5 separate regions of the Homo sapiens genome follow, and all the other regions are linked to region 2. The links are contacts of gene promoters, found by promoter capture Hi-C in blood cells and fetal thymus (Javierre and others, 2016). All regions are on one chromosome and are shown on one strand. The core of a region is centred on a gene start or on the middle of the fragment in contact, and the rest is flanking DNA. Distances in the headings are between cores, read along the strand shown.

Region 1 (2,826 bases), core at 159-2,658, 520 kb after region 2:
TTGTTGATCCAGAATTCATTCTGTCCCTCACCCCCCATCCCGCCCATCACTGAGTCCTGTGGGCTGTATCTTCCAAATGTGTCTCGAGCCTCCTTTTCTCACCACCCTAGTCCAGGCTACCATCACCTTGGCCTGGAGGTCTGTACCAGCTTCCCCACTGGTCTCCCTGCTTCCATTCCTGCCACGCTCCTTCCCATTCTCCACACAACAACCCCAGTTATCCTCTAAAAAATGTACATCAGACCACTTTGCCCCTCTGTTAAAGTCTCTGCTGGTTTCCCATCACTCTCAGAATAGAATCAAGATCATCACCATGGTCCCCAGGCTCTTCTCACTCTGGACCTCTTTGCCATGACACTAGGGTCCCCTACAGACTTCTCAGTTTCTCAAGCCCACCAAGCCCTTCCTGCCTGAGGTCCTTCTCTCCTGCTGTCCCCGCTGTCTGGAATGTCCTTCCTCTGTCCCTTCCCATTGCTGGCTCCTATTCATTCCTGAGTTTCAGCTCAATGATGTCACCTCCTCAAGTAATTCTTCCCCAGCTGCCCTTCTAGAATAAGTCCTCCCTGTATTCTCCATCTATGCAGTCTTTGGGTTTCCTTGATGGCACTGGGATCAGTCATAATCACATTTGCATTTGCTTGTTTTCTTATGATCAAATGCCGATATGCTGCCTGAAGACAGAATCAGACACAGCATATAGTAGGCCCCCAGGGCCTGACACAGCTCTGGTGCCACTGGTGCCTGTGGGGTGTGTCCCACTCTCAGTGTACAATCACAATTGCTCTTTCCTTAGCTGGACAGCCCTTCATCTCTCTGACTGGTCCATCTCACAGGACAAGCCCTGGAGACTCAGTGCCTTTCAACTGTACTGCTGTCCCCTTCAACTCCCAGGACTTCTCCCGGGACTTCAATGTTACGTGGTTGAAGGACAGTGATGAACATCCAGCCTCAGCTCAGCGCCTGGTGCCTGACAATGGAGGCAATGACTTCATCACCAGCAAGGCATGGGTGACACTGACCCGACAGGATGTCTCATCTGAGATCACCTGCGAAGTCACCCACAGGGCCCTGGCAGAGCCCCTGAAAACAACCATGAATCTCTCCCAAGTGCTCTGAGGTGAATGGGCAGTCAGGTGGGGTGGACATTAACCCTGGAAGCATCCAGCTTTCAGGGTTTTTGCCCAAAGCCTCATTTCATAAATGGGGAAATGAAATTCCTCATGGATTTCTGATCATGTGTATTGTGGTTATAAGCGCAGGTTCCAGGGGCTCGCTGTCTGGGTTTTAATCCTAGCTGTGCCACTTTACAACTTGTGGGATCTTGTGAGTTACTTGACTATTTAATACCAGTTTCTTTATATAACAGGAAAAAAATGAGGACCTACTTCATAGCTGTCCTGTGAAGATTAAATGAATTATTCCTTATAAAACACACATAACAGTGCCTGGCATGCAGTGACTTACTTACGAATGTTTGATCTTGTTATTATCTGGTCCCAGACTCCCTTTCTAAACATCTTTGTTCTATTAATGTCATTGTTACAGTTTTTTTTTTAAATGTTTATTATTCATTTAATAATAATGAATATCCACTGTATGCCAGACCCTGTGCTCAGTGCTGGGGATGCAGCAACGAGCAAAATAAAGTCCCTGTCGTCATGGGCATCACCTTTTACTAATTCTTAAAATTATATTTTCTGATATGAAATATTTCAAAAATACAGAATATAGCAGACACCCAGGTACCCTTACCCATATTTAATGAATATTAACATTTAGCCCTATTTGCTTTACATTACGCATACAAGAAAAAAATATTTCTTTAAAAAAAGGCGAGAGACCTTGAGGCTGTTCCCTGGGAGAGGGAAGCATGGGTGGCCACAGGCAGGGGCTGATTTCACCAGGTCTTACTTCCTATTCCTCTGTCTAGTTGTCCCCACCCTGAAGATCACCACTGAAACCTCTGGGACCCATGTACATGTGCAAGACAGAGTGAATCTCACCTGCCACGTCCTCCACTTCTATCCCGCCCACCTGCGACTCACCTGGATGGAGAACAGGAGCATGATCCAGACCCTGGTGTCCCCTCGTCCCCTCAGGCCACCAGAAATCCAGATGGGACATACTCTCTGGAGCACACGTGGCAGGCAGAGGCCACGCTGGAGGAGCGTGAGTTTGCTTGCTGGGTGGTCCACGATGAGCAGCCCCCACTCAAGGCCAACGTCACCCTGCAAGCCCAGGTGCGCAGGCAGGGGAAAGGTGGGTACAGCCTCTGGCCCAGCCCCTCTGGACATCCCCTGTGGGCAGCACGGCTGGGGAGGGTCAGAGACTCAGGGCGGCATTGGATGATGGTGAAGGAAGGAAGGATACCCGCAGCTGGTGATACAACTCTCACACATTCGCCCCCAGACTCCACTTCTCACGCCTTCCTCCACACCCTCCCCAAGAAGAAAGGGTGGGACTCCCCTTCCCTAATTCCATGCATTCTTGATGTTGAAAGTTCTCCACCTTAACACTTGACTGCAAGAAATGGCAGAGGTTAAGGACTGCTGAGCACCAAAGTGCCTTCTAGAAAGGCTATTAATCAAGACTGGCACAGTTGAAAGTTTCTGGATGGCAACTTTAAACAGAGGCCAGAATTCTGAATTCAGCTGGAAAAGAGGGTCCATGCACGGCCTTACGTAGGGTCAGGGCAGGCCCTTACACGGGGTCAGGACAGACCCTTACATGGGGTCAGGACAGGCCCTTACACGGGGTCAAACAGATCCTCCTCCTCCTTTCCCTTTCCTTTTCCCCCTCACTTTCCTTCTCCTTCCATCCTTCTCT
Region 2 (2,779 bases), core at 115-2,614:
CAGAGAACACACAAGCAGTTGGTCACAAAGCTCAAATGAGAAGCCAGGTTCAGAATTGCTTTTTTATGTTCCAGATGTTATGTGCACTTATGTAGGAGCTCAGCTCTGGCAGCAGGACATGGTGGAAAGGGCACTGCTGAGACCTAGCTGGCTCTGCGATGGATTCACTGTGTGTAAGGTTCCACCCCTTCCTGGGCCTCAGCCACCTCCTGGAGGGAGGGAGATGGGCTAGATGACATCTGACCTCCCCTCTTGCTGCAGTGTGTAGGGTCCAGAGCTCCTCTTCTTAGCATCCCAGCCATGCTGTACATTACAGCAAGGAATGGGAGACAGGGGAGGGGGCCTAATGTGCAATCACCTGTCCCAGTTTTTGTGGCTTCTGAAGTAGCCAGCATTTGCCTGTTGCATTTGGCTCAGTGATGTCTTTGGCCAATCTTCCAGCAGCCCTAATCGCCATTCACAATATTTTACAAGTTTGACTCATATCTTGTTTGGATTTGGCGTCCCTGTCAACCTACTAGGCTGAGCACACAAGACAGATAATAATTAGCATGCTGCTTAGCAGGGGTGCTGATTAACAAAGGCCCATATCCTCGACAGTAAGCATAGAGTGGGGGAACCTGCACTTCCTGTTGTTCTTTGTAACCCCTGTTCCCTGGTGCTCTCCTGTGGACCAGGACATCTTGTGGCACACCTGCTCCTGCTACGGGGAGGCTTCAGCTCATCAAGTCACTTACACAGAGCCTGTCTGATGCTTCTGATGTGTAGCTTACTTAGGAGCATTCCTAATGCTCCTAAGTAAGTTGATTTGAAATAAACAATGGTTTCTTTCAAATCAACTTACATGTTACCACTCTCACTCCCTGGTAGTTCTGAGATGTGCTTCTTTGCTGACACTGCTGACAGCTGGATACAGCTACACTGAGAAACACGAGACCCGAGTCCTGTCTGCTTTGGCTTTACGGGTGGCGACGGATGTGTAAAAGAAACGCAAACACAAACAAGGCAAAGCTTGTCCTCTGCCTAAGGAGATGCGATGTCCAGCTGCACTGAACACCCTGCCCATTATTCAGAGCTACATTCCAATGATGTTCTACCCCAAGAATATGCTAGAGGGACCCAACCACCACTGAGAAAGAGCCGCCTCTGGCTAGCACCCTAAAATAGGAAGTCTGGCCTTCAGAGCCCCCAAGGCAGGCAGCTGTCCTGGCCGGACACTCTGGCTTGGCAGGCTGGCCCAGGGGAAGCACAGGCTTCTGGCAAGGACCTGATGGAGAAGATGCCATGCACTCACCAGCCATGTTTCGCCTTCCTCTGCCTCTTCTCAGGCTCCTCTGGGAATGGCACGGACAGTGCTGACAGACAGGCTGCCAAGGATTGCCTTACCATTTATAGAATCCTCTCCTACACACCCCAATTAGAATTCTAATGAAGTGGGCGAGGCACCAGGTCATTCCTGTAGTGCCTGTAAACGTTTCACTTACGACAGACTTGTCACCCAATGGACGTGCATCATGTTTGTACAAGACCAGCTTGGGGAGAAGGGGGCAGATAATAAAGAAACTCAAATAGTTCGCTTTTATAATTTTATAAAATGATGGACTATTTCCTGGATTGTAGGGTTTAGGAAATGATGACATGCTTTTCTTGCTGATCCTGGGAAGTTCTCTCTGAATCAAAGAAACGTCTCAGCAGAACCCAGAAGAAGAAAATTGTGAGGTCCTTTCTCATGATACACATGTATTAGCATCTTCCACTTGCACAGGGAAGTGAGACACATCACAGTTCATTTGTTTAGGGTTGTAGTGTGGCATAAACCATCATTTGATTTGGAATTAGAAGCCGTTGGTTCTGATGCTGGCCGAGCCCTGGGTGGTCTCCAACCCTTGAAGCCCGGAAGCCTTGCTTGTGGTTGGGGATAATCACTCCCACCCCTCTCAACTCACAAAGCTGTGGACACGATCACATGAGATGGTGCGCATGGGAAGTGTATGCATATCTACCAGGGCAGGTTAAACTGAGATCACACTTGGCGTTGAATGTCAGTTTCAGTCCAGATTTGGGGGAAAATTGTTGTTTTTAATGAGGCAGCAGGAACAGCCTCTAACCTTATGCTTCTGCCATGTCTTTCTCAGACTGCAGGTTCCGTCACTGACCCTCACTGGGCCCACCTTGACATCAGTTTAAAGAAAGGGTGTGGAGTGGGGAGAAGCTCTGACATTCTACGTGTTTTTGTTTGCTTGCTTGTTTCTAAGGGCGTATGTTTTTTCAAAGTTCCTATTATCGATATTTACAAATATCAAGGTTTACGATGGACAAAGGAGTGAGTATATATTTTTTAAAGTGAGGCTTCAAGGATTCACGAGAGAACAGAAATGCCCCAAGGCTTTCCCCAGCATCACAGTGTGGAAGGAAGATTGAGCACCATGATGACAAGGTTGGGTCTTTAGAGAGAAGTGAGAATGTTTGATCTCGAGAAAGAGAAGACGGAATAGGCAGGTGGCTTGGAAAATTGAAAAAGAGAAATCAGTGTCCTTTCTCCGTCCTTTAGGCCCCTACAGCCTTTTGTACATCTTAGAACCTCTATTACCGTATGTATCCACTGCACTGGAACTATCTGTTTATATATGTCCCCATCTCCAGACTGAGCTCCTTGAAGGTACAGGTTGCATATCATTCAAATCTTCTTCTCAGAATCTAGCACAGGGCTTGACACGTGGCTGGAACATGCACATTCTTGAATAAGTGAATCAATATCACTGTAAAGATGGGAATCATA
Region 3 (2,701 bases), core at 110-2,609, 680 kb after region 2:
GTACACAAATGTAATTATAGCCACAATTTTTTGGTTATAATTAAATATGAATCAAACCTTCTGTATGGCTTATATTACTCTTACCATATCACTACAAGGTGCATGTTATAACTTCCATTTACATGTAATTAAGTTAAGGCTTAGAGAAGTCAAGTGTCTTGTTGAAAGTCACACAGCTGGAGATTGTAAGAAAAGGAATTCATCTACAGATTGACAAAAAGCAGGGTGAAGAGGATCCAGAGGGAGAAATTGATCTCAGAGTGTCAGAGGTAGACCAAGTACACCATAAAAGCTGGGTTCCAGAAGTCCGGGGAACATGGGAGAAGGCCACTGGTGGGAAACTCAGCATGCAGTAGAAATCCATTTAAAAGCAATATTTGAGTTCCCTCTCTTCACCTGGCACCATGAGTATCAATAATAACCTACTGAATCTCAGGGATGTATAGTCATTATCTCTTTTGATGTTCACTAAAACATGGCAGTGAGACTTATTATCCCAAGGTTAGAAGGCAAAACTGAACCTAGGCAGGCCCAGTAACTTCCCCAACTCCTTAGCACATCTTCTTAGGGTATTTATTCTCCCTCCCTCCTCAGTTCCCATCTGAAGACAGTGATGAATGGAATAGGTGTTCTATGTGCAGAGCAAAGAGTATTGAAATCGATGTGACTGCTCCAGGAATCTGCCCTCCATATTCTCCCCCATAATAAACATATCCCCTTTCCATAACCCATAATCCCCACCTCACCTCACAAAGCAGATCCTTATTACCCTAAGCCCACTTCCTCTCCTGGAAGAAGTCAGGAAATAATTCCTTCTGCTGGGTGCAGGCATATGAAAGTGCTAACGGCCACATGAGACTGAATTTGGGCTAAGTTTTGCCATTTATATTTATAAAAGTTCGGAATAGGGAACCATTTCAAGAGCAGACCTGTTCCTCTCCAACACTGAGCAGGTCCAGTGATCCCTCATCCTGCCCCAACTGAGTAGCACTTGGTTGAGGCTGTTGTAGAATGAGACCACAAGCCAACCACATCCTGAGGTCTTGAGATGGAAAGTTTAGGAAACATTTCATAACCACAGGTCCTTCCTGGCTTAAGAGCACCAAATGGCAAATCACCAAGAAGACATAAAGATGGGGTTAGGAGTCATGGAAGGAGTTAAGACCTCAGGTGGGAAGGAAGCATTATTTCTGCTAAGCCTGTCTGATTCTCCTGAAATGGGGCATGCATAACTGCTTGCATTGTAGCTGCTTGCTGTTCCTGATTTCTGTTTCACAATCCAGAAGCAGGTTACTGCTTCACTCCATCGCAGCCACTTCCTCTTGAACTAAGGGAGGCAGGGCTTGTCTTCTCTCCTCAGAGCAGAGTCTGCGATCTTCCCAGCACAGACGTTTGGACAGAGCAGGCTCCTAAGGTCTCCAGAATGCCCGTGCCAGCCTCCTGGCCCCACCTTCCTAGTCCTTTCCTGCTGATGACGCTACTGCTGGGGAGACTCACAGGTGAGCACTGCCTTCGGTTAAAATCTTTTTTCCTGCCCACTGAGCCATGGCCTGTCCCTGGACTTTCAGGGATTCCGGACAATGACAAGTGCTGCCAAGAAAGGCCAAGGATTAGGCTTTGACTGAGAGCAGAAAATCAGGGAGCTGAGCACTTTCTCTGTGGATCTGCAGCTGGCTACCAGAGGCATTGAACCACAGGACGATTCAACCACCACAACAACAATTACTTACATTTTGATAATATTTCAATTGAAAAAGCAGAGAAGAATCATTATCTAAATCCTCACCAGTCCTGAGGCCCTAGGGCCAAGTGACATGCCCAAGTCCACAGAGTAAGCTCAGAGACACCCTAACAGGGTTATGTGGCTCTAGGCCCAGCCCTCTCTCTTCACCAAACTGAGGATGTGAAGTCTGTAATAGTGCTCACTTGAGTAGGGCAGTGGTGTGGTGTATCCTGGGAGTGTTCAGCCACCATCCTCCCTAAGGGTGCTCCTCACTTTGTCCTCTGTTCCCCCATGCTCCTCCCTCCCCTGTGACCTGATTCTTACCACCCATTTCTCTGTGGCCTCTTCCTCTTTAAGAAGTTCCACATTTGCTGCTTACTGGGTCCTATATTCCTTTCCTAGGGCTTCCATAACAAAGAACTGCAGGCTGGGTGGCTGAAACTACAGATATTTACTTCCTTGCAGTTAAGGAGGCTGAAGTCCAAGATCAAGGTGTCAGCAGGGTTAGTTTCTACTGAAGTCTCTCTCCTTGGCTTATACAGGGCCATTTTCTCTCTGTGTCTTAAACACATGATCTTCCTCTGTGTGTGTCTGTGTCCTCATCTCCTCTTCTTATGAGAATATCAGTCTTGTTGTATTAAGGCCCACCCCAATGACCTCATTTAACTAAATTACTTCTTAAAGACCCTGTCTCCCAAACTGTAACGTTCAGAGGTGCTGGGGATTAGAGCTTCAACACATGCATTTTGTGGGACACATTCAGCCCATAACAGGTACTACAACCTCCTTTGGTTCTCTTAAATTTCCCATGGATAATTTCTTTCCCCTTCCCAAGACAGGCAGGATTGGAGGGCCTTTCCTGGTGCAGCCTGGGAGAACCCTGCTCACAGCTCCCAGACAAGTTACCTGTCCTGATCCCTTCTCAGGCCATGGAGCTGACCCCAGAACCACAGGGCTGGGCACAGCAGCCTCTCAATT
Region 4 (2,700 bases), core at 84-2,583, 790 kb after region 2:
GACAGAAACTAGGTGGAACTTCAGTACCGTGGCTTACTGCAGCACCAGCCAGACCGCAGCATCATAGGCAGACACTAGAGGGAGCGCTTCAATAGAAAGACCTCTTCCGTTACGTGATTACACACTAAGTCCCAAAAGGGTGCATTCCCAGAGAAGGGTTGACAGGTCTCCAGATTCTCTAGCCAGGCTGATTGGAGAAAGTCCTCCCTGTAGAAAACCAGACCACAAAGACTGCACGGGGTAGCTGAGTTTTCAAATGCCAAAGTACCAAGAGAAGATAAGAAGACATATAAAGGGACAGGAAAACATGGCCTATTCAAAGAAACACATTACATCTCTAGAAACTGACCCCAAAAAAATACACGAATTATCTGACCAAAAAAATGCAAAATAATAATCATAAGAATTTTCAATGAATTAAAAGAGAGTACAGACAGACAACTAAATGAAATCAGGAAAACAATGGATGAACAAAAAGAAAATATCAAAAAAGAGATAGAAGCTATGAAGAAGAACCACACAGAAATTCTGGAACTGCAGAATACAATAACTAAATTTAAAAATCCACTAGAGGGGCTTAGGAACAGATGTTACCAAGAGAAGAAAGAATCAGCAAATTCAAAGACAGGAGTTTTGAAATTACTGAAGCAAAGGAGAAAAAAAGAACTAAGAAAAGTAAAAGGAGCATAAGAAACTTATGGGACACTATGTGTAACATTATGGAACAACCTACACACTATGAGAATCTAAGACAGACAAGAAAAAGAGAAGGCACCACAGAGACTTTTAAAAAAAATGATGGCTGGAAATTTTTCTAATCTGAGGGAAAAAGTAGACATACAAATTCAAAAAGCTCAACAAGCTCCAACCAGGACGAATCTAACAGCATTTACACTAAGACACAATTAAACTGTCAAAAATAGAAAAGAGGCTGAAGTGGGAGGATCACTTGAGCCCAGGAATTTGTGGCTACAGCAAGATGTGATCACGCCACTGCACTCCAGCCTGGGTGACAGAGGGAAACTTTGTTTTAAAAAAAAAATGACAAAGAGTGAATCTTGAAAGCAGCAAGAGAAAAGCAACTTGTCACATACAAAGGAGCTCCTATTAAATCATCAGCTAAAGTCTCAACAGAACCCTTGTAGGCTAGAAGGAGTGGGATGTGATGAGAGAAAAAATAACTGCCAACAAAGAATACTATATAGTACTAAACTGCCTTCAAAATGAAGGGGAAATGAAGACTTTCCTGGATAAACAAAACTGAGGGAATTCATCACCATTAGACCTGCCCTGAAAGAAGTGCTGAAAGGAATCCTTCAAGTTGAAATGAAAAGATGATGAATGGCAACACAAAGCCATACAAAAGTATAAATCTACCAGGTAAACATAAACATAGAGACAAATATAAAATCTGGAAGTATTGTAACATAGCTGTATAAATCACTTTTGAATTTGGTATAGAATTTTAAAAGCGAAAGCATGGGAAGTAACTAAAAATCTATGTTGATGAATACACAATATAAAAAGAGGTAATTTGTTTTGTTACAGTAACATAAAGAGGGCAGAGAAGTAAAGAAGTAGAGTTTTTATATGCAATTTAAGTTAAGTTGTTATCGGTTTAAAATATCTTGCTATAACTTTAAGTCTCTTTGTGTAGTTGCAATGGTGATGACAAATAAAATATGAATAGAATACCAATGCTCTTCAACTTATGATGGGATAACATAAGAATAAACCCATCAGAAGTCAAAAATATTGTAAGTCAAAATTGCATTTGATGCTGGCAACACAGCATACTGTCCCTGACTTATGTTCAACTTACAAATTTTCAACTCTACAATTATGCAAAATAATACACATTTAGTAGAAACCATAACCCCATTGTAAATCATAGGAACTTTTTATCTTATGCTGGGCTTACATTCAGGTACTGTCTGTATACACAAACAGAATTGAAAAGAGAATCAAAATATGTCAGTACAAAACATACAAGAAGGCAGCAAAGGAGAAAAGGAGCAAAAACCACTGGACAAGACATATTAAAATATATTGAATGTATTATCCATATATATAGACAAGTAACAAAACGAAAATAGTAAGTCCTTCCATGTCAGTAATTACTTTAAAGGCAAATAAATACCTCAGTTAAAAGAGATAAATGAGAAAACATAAAAACAACAGAGCAAGATGATGGAATAGAAGCCTCCAGCAATCATCTCCCCCAGGAAGGACACTAATTTAACAACTGTGTACACACAAATAAAAGAGCCTTCATAAGAACTAAAAATCAAATGAGCAGTTACAATACCTGGTTTTACTTCATATCACTGAAAGAGGCACCGAAGAGGTAGAAAAAAAGTCTTGAATAGCCAACACCACCCCTCTCCTAACCCCTGGCAGTGGCAGCATGGTGTGGAGAGCATTTCTGTGCACTGGGGAAAGGGAGATCACAGCAGTTGTGAAGCATTGAACTCAGTGCTGCCCTATTATAAAAGAAAACAAAATGGGACCAAACTCAGCTGTTACCCACCCAAAGAGGGAGCATTTAAACAGCCTTAGCCAGAGGGGAATTGCTAATCCAATCTCAGTGGTCTGAACTTCAGTTCCTGCAAGCCTTACCACTGTGGGCTAAAGTACTCTGGGGCTCTAAATAAACTTGAAAGGCAGTCTAGGCTCCAAGAGCTACAACTCCTAGGCAAG
Region 5 (2,746 bases), core at 207-2,706, 760 kb after region 2:
TAATTAATATAGTTAAGTTTTTGGAGTAATGTGTAGCACACAGAACCACCTATGTGAGCTCTGGTTGTTACAGCCTTTTAGGGCTTAATAAGTGCAAATATGAGCCCACGAAAATAGTCCTGCTGCATCCGGCCATTGCAACTCTCACTCTGTGTCTTTGGCAAGTCTATGTCTTCACTTAGAACTCACAGAAGTCATGGGAACTGAGAAAGGTCCATCAGGCTTGGTAGAAGAAGGAACTGAAAGCCAAGCAATGGTGTGCGCTTCCTAGAATCACCAGGTTGTCAGGGCTGGAGCCTGGCCTACTGGACTTGCAGTTAAGAATGGAAAGCCCATTTCACAGAAGTCCTTCTATGAGCACAGTCCTGAGTGTTTCTCAAAGATTTTCAGGTTTCAGTATCACAACAAAATTGCAAGAGGAAGTTTTACTTTCCACATTGTATACATTACATAGATAAGAAAACAGAGCCTCAGGGAGGTTATTTTCGCAAAGTAAAACACCAATGTCAGTCCTTTTTCTGTTGCTTAGAATAGAATACATGAAACTGGATTATTTATAAAGAAAAAGAACCTATTTCTTATAGTTGTAAAGGCTGAGATGTTCAAGGTCAAGGGGCCATATTTGGTGAGAGCTTTCTTGCTGGTGGGGACTCTCTAAAGAGTCCTGAGGCAGCACAGGGTATCACATGGTGAGGGGACTGAGCATGCTAGCATACTATACTTGGGTCTCTCTCTCTCTTCTTATAAAACCAACAGTTCCCCTCCCATGATAACCCATTAATCCACTAATTTGTGAAATAACGCAGAGTCCTTATGACCCAATCACCTCTTAAAGACCCTACCTCTCAATACTGCACATTGAGGATTGAATTTCAACATGAATTTTGGAGGGGACAAATATTTAAACTATAGCAATCAAGCAATAGAGGAGGCATTGAAACCTGGGTCAATGGGACTCCACTAGCTCTTACTTTGACCTCTTCACTGTGCTGCTTCTAGATACATCGAACTTTTAACAAAAATAAGATTACACAAAATATGGTGGTTTATTTGTTCTTTTACTCAATGATAAATTGGGGACCCTTTTCTATGTAAATATATATGTGTCTGCAACATCATCAATACATCCCCAATATATACATCAACACTATCATTTCAATCTCTACATAGTTTTCCATTTTGTGGTTGTACCATCATTTATCTAACTCACTCCTATTCTTGGACATGGGCCATGCATCAAACTTTTCTATATTGTAAATACTATGATTACCATTCCTTTACAAATCATATTCACCCTTGTCTGATTGTTTCTTTTGAATAAGGCCGTCAAAGAGGAATTACTAAATCAAAGGGTATGAGTTTTATTGGGAAATTGCATTTCAAAAGTGTTTTTTGGTTTCAAAAGCCATTTCCCAATGAAACGTGAGTGTCTCAATATCAGTAATATATTATCTCACCACACCCAGCACAGAAGCAGCAGCAATGGACAGGGGGTATTTTGAACATTTGGGACCAAAACAGATTTGGTTAAAGTATCTCCACTTTACTTGTTTAAATATGGGTTTGTCACGTGGACATAGATCATAAGATCATGACTGTGATGCTGTATTGCCATCTAGAGAGATCGTGTCCATTGTTATTCCCACCAGCAGTATGTGGGAGCGCCTGCCTCACCACAACCTTAGCAACACAGAAAATTGGCAATCTTTTTCATGTTTGCTAAGCTAATATTCTAAAAATTGTGTCTGCTCTTAGCTTGCAGGAGGGAGAAATGTTTTATTTTATTTTATTTTTATTGTATTTCAGGCTTGCTGTCAAAATAATCCAAACAGGGAAGGAACGTACAAGTAAATAACAAAAGCCCCCATACTCTTCTGACTCCCTGGAGACAGCTACTTTTTAGGAGTTTCATTTGCCTTCTTCAAGAGAGCTTTCTTCCACTGACATAAAATGCCAGCTTGATCGTACAATAAATCTGTCTATTTACCTGGGTCCAATTCCAGGTTCTCTCTTCTGTTTCATCGACCTCTCTGCTTGCCTTGGTACCAACCTGCCTCTACTATTTATTGCAGCCTGAAAATGTGCTCTAACTTTCATATGCTGAAACCTGCGTACATTTTTTTTAAAAACTTTTCCAGCTAGTCTGTCATGGACGTTAGCAATTTGTGTGTGGTTTAACTATGCACTTCACTGGATTACTGGTGTTGTTGAACATCTTTTCTAGAAGTATTTCTTCTCTTTTGACTTCCTGACTGTGTCCTTAGCAAGGGCTGTCTGTCTATCTTGTCTCTATGTCTCTCTTGATACCCAGTTAAGGAATGTGCCCATCCTAAAAGCTAATACATGATATGGAAAGAAAGAATGAATGGGGCTTCAAATGCAATCTGAACCCAGGCACCTGGACCGCAGCCTCATCCCCAGCTGGAGCTTGGAGCTGACGTGTGTTCTTCCAGGAGTGGCGGGTGAGGAGGAGCTGCGGGTAATTCAGCCTGAGAAGTCCGTGTCAGTCGCAGCTGGAGAAGCGGCCACTCTACACTGCACTGTGACCTCCCTGATCCCCGTAGGGCCCATCCAGTGGTTCAGAGGAGCTGGACCAGGCCGGGAATTAATCTACAGTCAAAAAGAAGGCAACTTCCCCTGGATAAGAACTGTTTCAGACATCACAAATAGAAAGAGCACAAACTATTCCATCTGTATCAGAAGCATCACACCAGCAGAGCCGGCACCTACTACTGTGTGAAATTCC

The links. Contacts are between HindIII fragments. The CHiCAGO score rates a contact against its expected background, and 5 or more counts as called.
Region 1: a fragment that was not itself captured here is called in contact with the fragment with the promoter of TGM3 in region 2 in 1 of 17 cell types (neutrophils); the score reaches 5.7 in neutrophils.
Region 3: the fragment with the promoter of SIRPB1 here is called in contact with the fragment with the promoter of TGM3 in region 2 in 8 of 17 cell types (monocytes, total B cells, M0 macrophages and 5 more); the score reaches 13.5 in monocytes.
Region 4: a contact is called between a fragment that was not itself captured here and the fragment with the promoter of TGM3 in region 2, in 1 of 17 cell types (neutrophils). The highest score is 5.5, in neutrophils.
Region 5: a fragment that was not itself captured here is called in contact with the fragment with the promoter of TGM3 in region 2 in 1 of 17 cell types (neutrophils); the score reaches 7.1 in neutrophils.

Annotation. Positions count from the first base shown.
Region 1 is chr20:1,777,953-1,780,778 of GRCh38, reverse strand. It overlaps the pseudogene LOC100289473. Among named protein-coding and RNA genes, the nearest start is that of SIRPA, 120 kb to the left of the region's middle. The HindIII fragment of the contact is 6,303 bases long and covers 1-2,826 here.
Region 2 is chr20:2,294,586-2,297,364 of GRCh38, reverse strand. It overlaps TGM3 (transglutaminase 3), which reads right to left and starts at 1,364. Exons shown (of 13, transcript NM_003245.4): 1 at 1,295-1,364. The coding sequence starts at 1,301. It overlaps LOC105372503 (a long non-coding RNA gene), which reads left to right. Exons shown (of 3, transcript XR_937203.3): 2 at 75-173; 3 at 871-1,544. RefSeq lists enhancers at 1-126, 127-660. The HindIII fragment of the contact is 7,559 bases long and covers 1,014-2,779 here.
Region 3 is chr20:1,618,667-1,621,367 of GRCh38, reverse strand. It overlaps SIRPB1 (signal regulatory protein beta 1), which reads left to right and starts at 1,359. Exons shown (of 6, transcript NM_006065.5): 1 at 1,359-1,499. The coding sequence starts at 1,424. The HindIII fragment of the contact is 7,240 bases long and covers 1-2,701 here.
Region 4 is chr20:1,501,164-1,503,863 of GRCh38, reverse strand. No RefSeq gene overlaps it. Among named protein-coding and RNA genes, the nearest start is that of SIRPB2, 11 kb to the right of the region's middle. The HindIII fragment of the contact is 8,359 bases long and covers 1-2,700 here.
Region 5 is chr20:1,533,502-1,536,247 of GRCh38, reverse strand. It overlaps SIRPD (signal regulatory protein delta), which reads left to right. Exons shown (of 4, transcript NM_178460.3): 4 at 1,807-1,997. The coding sequence ends at 1,823. The region is part of intron 2 of LOC105372499 (a long non-coding RNA gene); the gene reads right to left. Among named protein-coding and RNA genes, the nearest start is that of SIRPD, 23 kb to the left of the region's middle. The HindIII fragment of the contact is 7,989 bases long and covers 1-2,746 here.